Regions from separate parts of the Homo sapiens genome. Here all the other regions are linked to region 1. Evidence: promoter capture Hi-C in 16 types of primary human blood cells and fetal thymus (Javierre and others, 2016). All regions are on one chromosome and are shown on one strand. The core of a region is centred on a gene start or on the middle of the fragment in contact, and the rest is flanking DNA. Distances in the headings are between cores, read along the strand shown. Region 1 holds the start of MYOG (myogenin). Region 2 overlaps LOC124904486 (a long non-coding RNA gene). Region 3 has its middle 22 kb from the start of CHIT1. Region 4 has its middle 5.2 kb from the start of CHIT1.

The links. Contacts are between HindIII fragments. The CHiCAGO score rates a contact against its expected background, and 5 or more counts as called.
Region 2: a contact is called between a fragment that was not itself captured here and the fragment with the promoter of MYOG in region 1, in 3 of 17 cell types (M0 macrophages, M2 macrophages and M1 macrophages). The highest score is 6.2, in M0 macrophages.
Region 3: a fragment that was not itself captured here is called in contact with the fragment with the promoter of MYOG in region 1 in 3 of 17 cell types (M2 macrophages, M1 macrophages and endothelial precursors); the score reaches 6.4 in M2 macrophages.
Region 4: a fragment that was not itself captured here is called in contact with the fragment with the promoter of MYOG in region 1 in 1 of 17 cell types (endothelial precursors); the score reaches 5.6 in endothelial precursors.

What each region holds. Positions count from the first base shown.
Region 1 is chr1:203,084,117-203,087,627 of GRCh38, reverse strand. MYOG (myogenin) reads left to right here and starts at 1,616. Exons shown (of 3, transcript NM_002479.6): 1 at 1,616-2,137; 2 at 2,900-2,981. The coding sequence starts at 1,667. MYOPARR (myogenin promoter associated myogenic regulatory antisense long non coding RNA) reads right to left here. Exons shown (of 3, transcript NR_160550.1): 2 at 3,055-3,256; 3 at 1-1,145. RefSeq lists an enhancer at 1-297. The HindIII fragment of the contact is 23,849 bases long and covers 1-3,511 here.
Region 2 is chr1:203,267,917-203,271,427 of GRCh38, reverse strand. It overlaps LOC124904486 (a long non-coding RNA gene), which reads left to right. Exons shown (of 2, transcript XR_007066798.1): 2 at 1-3,511. Among named protein-coding and RNA genes, the nearest start is that of LINC01353, 17 kb to the left of the region's middle. The HindIII fragment of the contact is 1,041 bases long and covers 1,316-2,356 here.
Region 3 is chr1:203,249,493-203,253,003 of GRCh38, reverse strand. No RefSeq gene overlaps it. Among named protein-coding and RNA genes, the nearest start is that of CHIT1, 22 kb to the right of the region's middle. The HindIII fragment of the contact is 808 bases long and covers 1,356-2,163 here.
Region 4 is chr1:203,233,108-203,236,618 of GRCh38, reverse strand. No RefSeq gene overlaps it. Among named protein-coding and RNA genes, the nearest start is that of CHIT1, 5.2 kb to the right of the region's middle. The HindIII fragment of the contact is 2,393 bases long and covers 786-3,178 here.

The DNA.
Region 1 (3,511 bases), core at 367-2,866:
AAGGAACACTGGTTCTTCACATGCCTCGCAGATCTCATGTTCCCTGTGAAGTCTCCCATGAGTCCCCAGCAGGGTTCCCCTTCCTCTTATTGTCCTTGCCACTGGCTTGAACTTGTCAGTTTGATCTGTCGTAGGATAAGGAGCAGGACATTAGTCTATGGGGAGGAAAAAACTGGGAACAAAGGATAAAAGATAGAGGGAGCAGATTGCAGCCCAAAGCTACACGTCAATGGAACGGGCTGTCTCCTGACGTGAGCAGAAGCTGAACAGTAGCCGCCTCGGAGGAGATTTGGGCATCAGGGGCTAGGTAGAAAGAGGTGATCACCGTTGTCTATCAGATGGTAAGTTCGAGGGCAGGGATCCTGTCTGGGGTGTCCCTATAATCCCCAGCCCTAAGACTGAGCCTTGTTCACTGCTAGTGTCTAAGGTCTGCCCACTGCATTGGAAGGAATTTGTCCTCTCAGACCCTGAGGCACCTACTGAGAGGTGACCATGGCCTGAGAGGCCTGAAGATTAAATAGTCCCTGCTCTACCTGACATTTGAGACCTGCATGATACGTGTAAAATTGATGGCTCAGACAGTAAGAGGCAGAACAACCAAGCCCGGTGGCCAAGGAGAGAGGAGATTTAAACTGAGTTTGAAGGGCTCTGTTTTTTCTACTTTTTCACCCCCGTCCACATTAATGAGCCAGGAAAATTCTGGTGTTGGAAAAAGAGTTGAGGAGGTAACATAGAAGGACAGATCAATGGTCCGGAGTGAGACAGGGAGGAGACAGGGAGCTTAGGACATCTTGACCTTGCCGCTCTGGGGAAGGTGGCAACGTGTAGGCTGTAAATTCTAATCTCTGCTCTGACCACGGCTGCTGTATTAAAGAGGAAATTTCTCTTTACCCCTGCCAAGAAAACCAAAACCCAAATAATTTCTCTTGCCTCAATTTACCCCCCCAGATGAGACCTAAGAGAACATACAGCTCAAAGCTGCTTGGGAACCCCAAAAGTGGAATCTGTTAGCTGCTCTGAGTCTTGATCCTTCTTATCCCTGGATACTGAGTGCCCATGAATGCCCAGAATCTGAAGCAGTCCCATTCTTTCCGGAGGGAAGTCTTTAAAAGAGTCTCATCGACTGATGTAGTGTGGTTAAGGTGCTGTCAGGAAGCAAGGAGATGGATAAGTTGGCTCTTAAGGCCCCTTCCAGCCTAAGCCTACCCTTCCTTGTTCCCTCCTCCCCCTATACCCACCAGCTTCTTCGGGACTGCAAGGAGACAGCAGGCAGGCCGCCCAGCTAGGAGTAATTGAAAGGAGCAGATGAGAGGGGAATGTGTCCTCCCCCAACGCCCCTGCCCCACAGGGGCTGCTGAGAAATGAAAACTAATCAAATTACACCCGACGGCCTCCCGACCCGTGCACAGGAGCCCGCCTGGGCCAGGGGCAGGCTGGCAGGGTGGGGTGGGGGCCATGCGGGAGAAAGAAGGGGAATCACATCTAATCCACTGTAAACGCCTTGATGTGCAGCAACAGCTTAGAGGGGGCTCAGGTTTCTGTGGCGTTGGCTATATTTATCTCTGGTTCCATGCCAGCGGGGAGGGTTTAAATGGCACCCAGCAGTTGGCGTGAGGGGCTGCTGGAGCTTGGGGGCTGGTGGCAGGAACAAGCCTTTTCCGACCCCATGGAGCTGTATGAGACATCCCCCTACTTCTACCAGGAACCCCGCTTCTATGATGGGGAAAACTACCTGCCTGTCCACCTCCAGGGCTTCGAACCACCAGGCTACGAGCGGACGGAGCTCACCCTGAGCCCCGAGGCCCCAGGGCCCCTTGAGGACAAGGGGCTGGGGACCCCCGAGCACTGTCCAGGCCAGTGCCTGCCGTGGGCGTGTAAGGTGTGTAAGAGGAAGTCGGTGTCCGTGGACCGGCGGCGGGCGGCCACACTGAGGGAGAAGCGCAGGCTCAAGAAGGTGAATGAGGCCTTCGAGGCCCTGAAGAGAAGCACCCTGCTCAACCCCAACCAGCGGCTGCCCAAGGTGGAGATCCTGCGCAGTGCCATCCAGTACATCGAGCGCCTCCAGGCCCTGCTCAGCTCCCTCAACCAGGAGGAGCGTGACCTCCGCTACCGGGGCGGGGGCGGGCCCCAGCCAGGGGTAAGTGGCCATCCCATCCCCCTGCCCCAAGGGGACGGGGCCAGAGGGAGGCACCTGGACAGCCTCAAGACCCCAAGAGGGGCTCAGAGGGTTGGTGCAGGTGCCAGACAGGGTCGAGGGGCTGCAGGAGCCCTTCCCTGGTCAGAGCTGGGCTATCCAGCTGACCTCCTGTGTCCTGTGTTCTTTCCAGACAAGATAAAGGCAGTGGGGAGGAAGTGCAGAAGGGGTTGGGGTGGGGAACATAGGACTGAAGAAAGATCAGGAGCAAGGCCACAGTCAGCCCAGGTGAGGGTGAGGATTAATCCCAGCGCCTGAGTCAGAGCCTAAAAGGCCAGGCCAAGTTCACCAGAGAAGACTGCTTTGCCCCCATCCTGGGTGTGGCTGAGCAGAGAGAAAACCCACTCAGTCTCATTGGAACTCCAGCAGGCCTGCACAGAGCGACCTTCACTGGGCCACAAAATCTGTCTCCATCACCCTTATCGCCAGAGTCAGGAGAACCAGGGACCCCTTTAAGCTGGTGTCCTGTGAGAGCAGAACCACCACCCAGGATGGAAGCCAGGAAGGCCTGGAAGCAGGGCCTCTGGGGTGTGAGAGGAGCTAGTTACAAAGATTCTGGGGTTGGGGATGGCCTGGGCTGGAAGGCCACAGCCTGTGGCCCACCCTCCAACCCCACCACAGGTACTTCTGCCCACTGGGACTAGGCAGAGAGAGACATCAAAGAATGGCTGTGCCCCGACCTTGGGCCTTCGCCCTGTCTTGCAGGTGCCCAGCGAATGCAGCTCTCACAGCGCCTCCTGCAGTCCAGAGTGGGGCAGTGCACTGGAGTTCAGCGCCAACCCAGGGGGTAAGTAAGGCCTGACTGGTAACCTTGGCTCCAATCCCTCAGTCCCTCCCTGGGCCAGGTTCTCCCCTCTTACCTTATTCCTTGCTCCGGTCCTCTTCCCTTGGGTCTCTCTAGGGACCTGCTGACTCCAAGGCCCAAAGGGTGGGCTGGGAGGTTCTGTGTGCCCCTGCAGTCTTGACCAGCAAAGGAGTGATAGTAGCTCCTGCAGCTCCCCAGCTGATGCCTGGTGGTTGACCTTCTCCACAGAGAGGACAATGTCCCTGCCCCAGGGGTCCCTGTGAAGTGCTGAGTCAGTGCTGCAAAACTGGGCCGAGCAAAGGGCAGGTCCAGTCTCTGGGGAGCTCCATCCTGCTCCAACTTGAGTGGCTGCTTCCAAACCCTACCTACTAGGGGAGTTCAGAAAAGAGGCGCATACACACACACACACACACACACACACACACACACACACTCACAGAGCATGGGGAAAGGCAGGGACTAGGGAGTAGAACTCCGGAGCTTTGTCATTCATCTGTCCTGGAAAACCTCTG
Region 2 (3,511 bases), core at 587-3,086, 180 kb before region 1:
GAGGCTTCAGTTAATACAAATTGTTTGTTGTAAGATAGCATTATCTCCAAGCCTAGAGAGGCCATGAGACTTGCCCGAGGCCAGAATCTAGTGTGGTAGAAGCTGCTAGTCTCCAATAACTTTCTACTATTTTATCAGGGTAAGAAAAGTTGTAGCAGGAAACATGGCTGCCCAGAATGAAGACTGCATTTCCCAGTCTCCTGTGTGGGTAGGCGTGGTCACATGACTGAGTTCTGGCCAAAGAGAAGTAAGTAGACGCGTTATGCAGCAGTGTCTGGGAACCTTTCTTAAGACACAGGTTGTGCATCTGCTGTCTGCTCCTTCTTCTTTGTCCCTCCCTCTGTTTTGCTACTTGGTAGGCAGGTGCTACCTTGTACCATGAGGGCAAGGGCCACTCAATAACAACACAATTGCTGCTGTTGTGAATTTTCTGTTACTCTCATTTCTACCTCATCTTAACTGAGATGCCCTGTGATAGAGTGGGGGATTTGAACCTGAGTCAGTCAGCTGTTTCTCAACACAATGCGAGGTTTCTGGGTCCCCTGTGTGCTCCTGCTGTACCTCATCAGCTCTTAGGTGTGAAGCATCCCTTAGAACTCTGATGAGGTGGCGTTGAAGGAGGGGAGCCACTCTAATGCAGCTTTTCGAACTCATCCATTCCAAAGATGGCTCAGGGCCTTTGCTAGATCCAGAGGCAGCTTGAGGGCGAAAGTCCAGGGCCCTGAGAGGGTGGAAGAGGTGACACTTCTAAGATCCAGGAAACCCCAGCCTCTGCCACAAGACTGGCTGCACAGCTACCCCTGTGGCAGGTGAAGGCAGTGCTCAGGTAGTCCTGGGACTCTTTCTAAACTTCTCTGGCCTGGCCCTCAATGTCCTCTGACAGACTCTAGCTTGCTGGGACACCTCTAAGGAAACTGCCAAGGGAACTGCAGAAGCAGGAGCAGGTGAGAAGTGCCCGGGTGTCTTCTTTCCATGGGGGAATTTGGAGAAGCATTCTGAGCCCAGCAAAGTGTCAGGCAGGCAAGGTAAGGCCTCACCTGATAGGAGGTGTATCCTCGTACCTAGTCTCAGCAAGGAAGGTTGCCAGCTTCATGGCTCTTTTGAGTTAAAAGGGCTGTAAGATCCTTGGTAAACGACCAGAGCCTGAATGTCACAGGGAAGAGGTTGGACTGGGACCCAATACAGCTGCCTATGTATCTGAGAAGACGCTATTTATAAACAGAGAAGGTATTTATTGGCTGGACAATCCTGAGGAAGTCTCCCACTTCTCACTCTCATTCATAAAGTGGGGATCATGATCACTACCTCTCAAGCTTACTGTAACATTGAATGAGGTAATGAATATGAAAACACTCAAAATCTATAAAGTATCTACAAACCTGGAAGATTATAATTCTGCATTTGTACAGTAGAAATAACAGTACCATGGTTGCTATTAGTGCCCAGCCAAATCCCCTTTACTGGTCTGGTGCAACCCTCCATCCCTGCCCACCGGCTGCTGTGAGGTTTGGCTGGTAACAGTTCACAGTTATTCCCTCTGCAGAGACTTCCCCGGGAATGGAAGCTGCCTTACTTGGGGCTTGCAGCCGATGCTTGTCTGACACAGGGGCAGGAAAGGCCAGTCCCCGACCTCAAGACAAGATGAACTCTGGTGTAGCACATGCTTCAGGGATCCCCATGAAATCAGGCCGCAGCTCAGCCACAGCTGACACCACAGCCTGGCTCCCTCCTTCCCCACCCCACTCTCCTTCCTTTTCTTTCTTCTGAGGGTTCTTCCCCAACAGAAGAAGATATGCATGAAATCTGTCCCAGGCTCTGCTTTTAAGGAATCTGGTCCACTTGTCTGCCGTACAAAGTTGCTATGAGGGTTAAATAATATAATACAGATGAAGAGATTAGCCCAGTGCCTGGCATATACAGTGCATATCCAATTAATGTTAAAGATTGCCATTATCCATGAGACTGGAGCATCAGGAACATCTTAGTGTAATAGTGAGGTGTGGAAATCTGGTGAGTGAGTCAGTGGATTGAATTTTACATGCTTAGGGACTGGGGTGGGCAGAGAGAAGGGCAGCTGGGTTTCCTTGGGTATCACTGGTTGTCTCAGCTTTGGGCAGTGAGGGTCCTTTACACAGCTAGGGAAAAGTTCCAGTCATTACATACTTCTACCAGCAGAGGACGCCACTTCCATACAAATAAGTGTTTCCTCTGCTATCTGATGCAGTTTTCATCAAAGCAGTCTAGGCTGGCAGGAAAGATCAGGTACATGACAGAGCAGAAAGTGCCTTCAGATTTGCACAGATAATAGGAGAGGGCAGAACAGGAAGAAACAGTGAGTTAAGCTGTTCAGGAAGCTTCGTGGGAGGTGAGGCCTTGAGCAGGGCACTCTAGCACCAGAAGGAGTATTGAGTGGAGATGGCATTCCCAGGGAAGCCACTACCCTAGGCAAGGTGACCAGGGCCTGAGCCAGGGCCGTGGCAGGGAGGCAGCCACGAGAGGGTATGAAGGACACCAAACACAGGGACAGGACTGATTTCAGCTGAGAGGTCTAGGAGGAGATCATGGGCCCACCAACATGGGGTAGACGTCAGGAAGGAGCACGTTTTTATAGGACAGAGCACACTTCTCCAACTGGTTTGACTGCCCTGTTACAATGTCCTCTGCAAGCCATCATTCTGTAGGATTCCTGTTTTGTGTGGATTCTAGAAACCAGTGAAATATTCAGAGGTGTTAATAGCATCAAGATTTCATTGGTTCTTTCCATTCTTTTTATTTTTATTTTTTGAGATGGGGTCTCAGTCCCTGCCCCAGGCTGGAGTGCAGTGGCACCATCACAGCTCACCACAGCCTCAACACCCCAGGGCTCAGGCGATCCTCCTGCCTCAGCCTCCTGAGTAGCTGAGACCATAGGTACGTACCACCATGCCTGGCTAATTTTACATATATACACATATATGTGTGTATATATAATTATATACGTATATATACACATATATACATATATAATTATATACATATATACATATATACACACACATATATGTGTATATATATACACACATATATATGTATATATACACATATGTATATGTGTGTGTGTGTGTGTGTATATATATATATATATATATATATATATATATTTGAAGAGACAGGGTCTCCTTACGTTGTCCAGACTGATCTTGAACTCCTGGGCTCAAGCGATCCTCCTGTCTCAGTCTCCCAAAGTGCTGGGATTACAGACGTGAGCCACCGCGCCTGGCCAGCTTTTTCCGTTTTGAGTAGAGACGGCAAGAAGCGCCCCACAGCTTGCCCTTGCTTCGGAACTCGGGGTTGTGAATCAGTCAGGATAGAAATTAATGGTGCAGTGGGAATAAAGAGGAATGTTAGATGATCTCGCAGGGGTGGGGGAGAACCCAAAAAGAAAGAACGAACGTGAAGAAGCCTAGCTCTCCGAGACTGGGGTTCAGTCCTTGCTGGAGAAAGTGCGTTGCAGCCCATTGAGGGCAGAAGA
Region 3 (3,511 bases), core at 510-3,009, 170 kb before region 1:
AATGGTGTTGAGAACTGGTGGGACCTTTAAGAGGCATTTGGGTCATAAGCCATCTGTCCTTATGAAGGGATTAATGCCATTTCACAGGAGTGAATTATTGCTCTTCAGTGACTGGATTAGTTACCGCAAGAGTGGGTTGTTATAAAGTGAGGTCACCCCTCATGTTTTCTCTCTTGTGTGTGTACCCGCTCAGTGCTCTCACATGCATAACCACCATGTGATGCCATCCTCCATGTTATGACACAGCATGAGACCCTCGTCAGATGCAGCTGTTTGATCTTGAACTTCCCAGCATCAAGAACTGTGAGCTAAACAAACCTCTTTTTAAAAAATAAATTACCTGGTCTCAAGTATTCTGTTACAGCAACAGAAAATGGACAAAGACTGTAAAGGAAAGGAAGTGAGAAGGGAATCAAAATCTGTGGCCACAAAAAAAAATTAATGAAACACAAAAGAAATTATCAAAAGAAAAAAGGGGGGGGGGACAAAGAAAGCTACAAGTGAAACAGAACACAATGAACAAAATGGCAACAGTAAGTCCTTCACTATCAGCAATTTCTTAAAATGTAAATGCCATTATGAGCAATTATATGCCAACAATTGGATTTGGCAATAATTTCTTGGATATGATACCAAAAGCACAGGCAACAAAATAAAAAATAGACAAATAGTACTACATAAAACTTAAGTTTTTTTACACATCAAAGTAACAGTCAACAGAGAGAAAAGGCAACCTATGGAATGGGAGAAAAGAGTTGCAAGTCATATATCTGATAAGGGGTCAATATCCAGAATATATAAGGATCTTGTACAACTTAACAACAAGAAAAACCCCAAATAATCCAATTTAAAAACTGGCAAAGGATTTAAATAGACATTTCTCCAAAGAAGATATATGAATGGTTATTAAGTACATGAAAATATGCTCAACATCATTAATCACTAGGGAAATGTAAATAAAACTCACAATGAGATATCACCTCACACCCATCAGGATAGCCATTATAAAAATAACAGGAAATAACAAGTGTTGACAAGGATGCAGAGAAGTTTGGGTCCTCATGCACTGGTGGTGGGAAAGTAAATTATACAGATGTTATGAAAAACAGTATGGAGTTTCTCAAAACATTAAAAATAGAACTATCATATGATCCAGCAATCCCCCTTTTGGGTATATAGCCAAAAAGCTTCAAAGCAGATCTCAGAGATATTTGCACACCCATGTTCATTGCAGGATTATTCACAATAGCCAACAGGAGGAAATAACAGGTAATTGGATAAGAAAATGTGGTATATGCACATAATGGAATTTTATGTGCCCTTAAAAAAGGGCATGTTACAACATGAATGAAGCTTAAGGACATTATGCTAAGTGAAATAAGCCAGTCACAAATGGACAAATACTGTATAATTCACTCATATAAAGTATCTAAATAAGTCAGAATCCTCAAAACATAAAGTAAAAAGGTAGTCGCCAAGAACTTGCGGGAGGTGGGATGGGGAATTCATGTTTGGTAGGTATAGAGTTTCAGTGTTGCAAGAAGAAAAATTTCTAGAGACTTGTTGCACAAGTGAATATACTTAACAGTACTGAAATGTACATTTAAAAATGTTTAGGATGGTTTAATGTTGTGTGGTTTTTACCACAATACAAAAAAAAAGACTCAGCTAAGAAAACGAACAGGCAAAACCAAAGGCTGGTAGAAAACATTCACAGTACATATATCTGAATATGGATTTCTATCCAGAATAATAAAGAACTTCTAACACAATAAAAATGTGGATGACAGACTTGAGCAACATTTTCAGAAGCAAACAAAGACATATGAATGGACAAAGACATATAAAAAAAGTGCTCGACATCATTACTCAGCAGGCAAAGGCAAATTAAAGCCATAATGAATCACTACATGCCTACTAGAATGTCTAAAATTATAAAGACTGTCAACACCACATGTTGGCAAGCATTTGACATAACAAAAACTCTCACGTTGCTCTTGGATGTGTGAAATGGCACAATTACTTTGAAAAGTTGCTTGCTTGGTAGCTTCTTATTAAACATAAAGCTAGCTGATGACTCTAATTTTACACCTGTGTATTTATTCAAAGTAAATGAAAACATATGTCCACGAAGAGACGTATACATAACTGTTCATAGAAGCTTTGCATTTCTGATAGCCAAAACTGGAAATAACCCAATGTTTATGAAGTGGGATATATTCATAAAATACAATACTTCTTGCAATTAAAAGAAACAGACTACTGATAACAACAAAATGGATGAGTCTCAAAAACTTTATGCTGACTGAAACAAGCCAACATTAAAGAGCTCTCGGTGGCCAAAGCTGGAAAAATTTGAGCAGCAAAATAAATAATGTACTAATAGTATTTGATTATAACTCAAAACATAAATAAATATCTATGAGTCCATATGGATATAAATAAATGATATAGTAAATAAATGGGAGAGAAGGGACAAATGTCCCATACAGAATTATATAATAAAGGTATGTAGTTGCTTCTTCCCCAAGGAAGTGGAGCTTAACTCCTCACCCCTAGAGTGTGGGCTGCACTTACTGACTCGCTTCCAAAGAGTAGAATAGGGAAGCCAGGTGGAGAAGTAGAAACCTGGCAAATAGTATCCCGGCCTGGTAATCAAGATTAAAAAGATCAGTTATGTGGATAATACCTACCTTTTAGTTTTAGTTTTTTGAGACAAGGTCTCACTCTGTCACCAGGCTGGAGTGCAGTGGTAAGATTTCTGTTCACTGCAACCTCTGCCTCCTGGGTTCAAGCGATTCTCCTGCTTCAGCCTCCCAAGTGGCTGGGATTACACGTGCATGCCACCATGCCTGGCTAATTTTTGTATTTTTAGTAGAGACAGGGTTTCACCGTGTTTGCCAGGCTGGTCTCCAACTCTTGACCTCAAGTGATCTGCTTGCCTTGGCCTCCCAAAGTACTGGGATTACAGGCGTGAGCCACCACACCCAGCCTGGGGTGAGATTTTTATTCTATTCTTTAGAAGAATTTGAGAAAGTTTGGCATTTGGTAGAATTTGCCTATGAATCCACTTGGCCAGGCTGGTCTCGAACTCCTGACCTCAAGTGATCCCCCCAACCTTGGCCTTCTAAAGTACTAGGATTGCATGTGTGAGTCATTGCATCCAGCAGATAATACCTACATTTTTAATGAGATGTAATGAGGATGGCACTTCACCTCTGTGGTTTACCTCCCCAAAACATAGAACCCCTATCTAACCATGAAGAAAACACTAGACAAGCCAAAATTGAAGGACATTCTACAAAATACCTGACTAATACTCATTAAAACTTTCAAAGTATTGGAAAAGGTAAAAAGGAAAGTCTGAGAAACTGTCACAGACAAGAGGGGGCTAAAGGAGACACAACAACTAAATGTAATGTGGTATCCTAGATGGGACCCTGAATTGAAAAACGACATTAGGGAGAAAACAGTGAAATACAAGTAAAGCATGGAGTTTATTTAATTTAAA
Region 4 (3,511 bases), core at 733-3,232, 150 kb before region 1:
GAGGAAGATGGGAAGGGGCTTGGAGCTGCTCTCCTCTCTCCATGTGTTCAGTAGCCTTGAAGCTCTTTAAACCCCATGGATCATGGATTTTGTTTGTTTGTTTGTTTGTTTGTTTGTCTGTAGAAAGGGGGTCTCACTAGGTTGAGACCTAGTTGTTCAGGAGGTCAAGGTTGTTCAGGCTGGTCTCAAACTCCTGAACTCAAGAAATCCTCCTGCCTCTGCACCCCAAAGTGCTGGGATTTCAGGCATAAGCCACTGCACCCAGCCTAGTTAATGGACTTTTATGCAGGCTTCCCCACATAAGCATGATTACGTGGTCTTCAGCCCCACTCCCCTTCCCAGAGGATGGGGGGTGGAGCTGAAGGTTCCAAACTTCTCATCATGGCTTGGTCTTTCTGGTGACCAACCCCCCTCCAGATGCCCACAAAGAGGCACCTCTTTGGAACAAAAGATGCTCCTAGTACCCAGGAAGTTCCAAGGGCTTAGGAGTTCTGTGTCAAAACTAGGGTCAAAGGCTAAACATTAGAACAAGAGATGCACCTAGAACCCCTATTTCTCAAGAAATTTTAAGGGTTTTAGGAGCTCCGTGCCAGAAATTGGGGACAAAGACCAAATATACATTTCTTATATCACAATATCATAGTGGGCCAGATCATGCAGAGAGGTCACATTAATTAATTAATTAATTCAATAGATATGGATTAAGCACCTACTATGTGCTGGGAAATATTCTGGGTACTAGACAAAGAGGACTAAACAAGAAAAGTCCCTCCTCTCATGAAGCTTACATTCTAGTGGTAGGAAACAGACACTACACACAAATGAATGAATGAATGAATGAATTCAGCCATGAAAGTACTTAGGAGAAAATAAATCATCAGGAGAGAACAGAGAGTGACTTGAGGGGAGGGCACTACTTTCTATGAGTGGTCAGGAAAAGCATGAATGAGGAGAAGGAGCCAGCTGTGTGAAGATCACAGAGAAGAACATTGTGGGCAGAGGCAATGGCAGGTGCAAAGGTATCAGGAGAACCCGCCCCTGAATATTCAACGTGGGCCCTTTTCTATTTTTCCTAAGTGTCAGTCGGTCTGAGAAATAAAGGGAAAGAGTACAAAAGAGAGAAATTTTAAAGCTGGGTGTCCGGGGGAGACATCACATGTCAGCAGGTTCCATGATGCCCCCCAAGCTGCAAAACCAGCAAGTTTTTATTAGTGATTTTCGAAAGGGGAGGGAGTGTATGAATAGGGTGTGGGTCACAAAGATCACATGCTTCACAAGGTAATAAAATATTACAAGGCAAATGGAGGCAGGGCGAGATCACAGGACCGGGGCGAAATTAAAATTGCTAATGAAGTTTCGGGCATGCATTGTCATTGATGACATCTTATCAGGAGACAGGGTTTGAGAGCAGACAAGCGGTCTGACCAAAATTTATTAAGCAGGAATTTCCTCATCCTAATAAGCCTGGGAGTGCTACGGGAGACTGGTGCTTATTTCATCCCTTATCTACAACAGTAAAAGACAGATGTCCCCAGAGCGGCCATTTTAGAGACCTCCCCCTAGGAATGCATTCTCTTTCTCAGGGATGTTCCTTGCTGAGAAAAAGAATTCAGCGATATTTCTCCTATTTGCTTTTGAAAGAAGAGAAATATAGCTCTGTCCCACCTGGCTGTCAGGCAGCCAGACCTAATGGTTATCTCCCTTGTTCCCTGAACATCGCTGTTATCCTGTTCTTTTTTCAAGGTGCCCAGATTTCATATTGTTTAAACAATTTATGCAGTTAACGCAATCCTCACGGAGTCCTGAGGCAACATACATCCTCAGTTTACAAAGATGGCGGGATTAAGAGATTAAAGTAAAGACAGGCATAGGAAATCACAAGAATATTGATTGGGGAAGTGATAAATGTCCATGAAATCTTCACAATTTATGTTCAGAGATTGCAGTAAAGACAGGCGTAAGAAATTATAAAAGTATTAATTTGAGGAACTAATAAATGTCCATGAAATTTTCACAATTTATGTTCTTCTGCCATGGCTTCAGCCGGTCCCTCCGTTCAGGGTCCCTGACTTCCCGCAACATCTCTCCCTTTCTTTTTATATAAATGTGCCATGGCGATGAAGGCTTGTTCATTCTCTCGATTTTGATGCAGGATTCTTTGACTTGTCTGACACACTAAAGACAAGCTGGTTAAACAGAGAAACATAATTCCAAAATTTACTAGAGTGGGGCCTCCAATAGACTTAATCAAAGTCGTGGGGTTTAGTCCATAAAGATTTTCTGCCACCTGATCTAACGCCTCAGCTCCAGGCACAATGGATAAGTGAGCCTGAGAGGCTTCAAAAATTTGTTTTTTTAATTTAGTTATGTCCAGTGATAAATTATCTTCCCTGCCAAGAAGGTGTCCTTTGAAAGAACATTGTCCTAATGAAAGAATAGAGTTAGAGTGTTCTAGAGGTAGAGTTAAGGAGTTGATATTTTATTTTAAGTGGGAACCATTGCAAGGTCTTAGCAGGAAAGCAACAGGATCTGATTTAAGTTTCTCAAAGTGTACTCTGGCTGCTGTGTGGAGAATGGATTGCAGAGGCAAGAGAATTAGGAAGGAAGGCAGGTAGGAGGCTCTTCTGGGGACAGGGTGGGAGTTGACGGTGGTTAGGAGGTGGAGGAGATGGAGCAGGAGGCAGGATGTCTAATAGGTCCTGATCATTGAGGGTGAGGAAAGGGAAGGATCAAGGACACTTCCTGGGTGACTTGGAGACCCGGATAGGTGGTGATGTCTTTTACTGCTAAGGGGAAGAACACGGTGGGACGTGGGAAGGAACAGTTAACAAACATTAATTGAAGACCCCCTGTATGCTTGGTGCTGAGGGACACATAGAGAGGTGTGGAGAGAGGCCCCACTCTGCCTGGCTATGGACAGTCCAGCTACAGAGATGAGATGCTCACATGAAGCAAGAGAAAAAGGTGTGATACCAACCATCAAGATGCAGTCCCATGAGATCTGGCTGGCGTCCTCCCACCTACAAAGCCCTCTCACACATTATCTATTCGATCCACATCATTACCAAATAAGATAGGTAGTATTATCCCCATTTTACAGATGAGAAAACCAAGGCTTGGAGAGGCTGTGACTAGCCCCAGCTCAGCCAGCCAGGTTGGATGCAAATCAGCAGAAGCTTTAGAATTTCTATACAGGCATCTGCTCTGCAGTAGGGTGGGACGGGGACTTGCTTTGAAGCCTCATTTTATATCAAGCACACTGGTTTTACTTGGTTTGGGCTTTGGCAGTGGCTGAGAAAGGGGTGGGAGAAGCCAATGGGGCTGGAAAGGAGAGTATAAAATCTATGAAAGTAATTTATTGGTGATATCCATTGAGATACACCCAGTTCTGTCTGTCTCCAAGCCAGGGTTCTTTCCTATTCTGGATGGAAGGAGTTGTTCCAAGATAGCAGAAGGTAGTATGGAGTACATTGACTGTGGAAGAGGCAAGGCTTAACTCAGAGTGATCTCT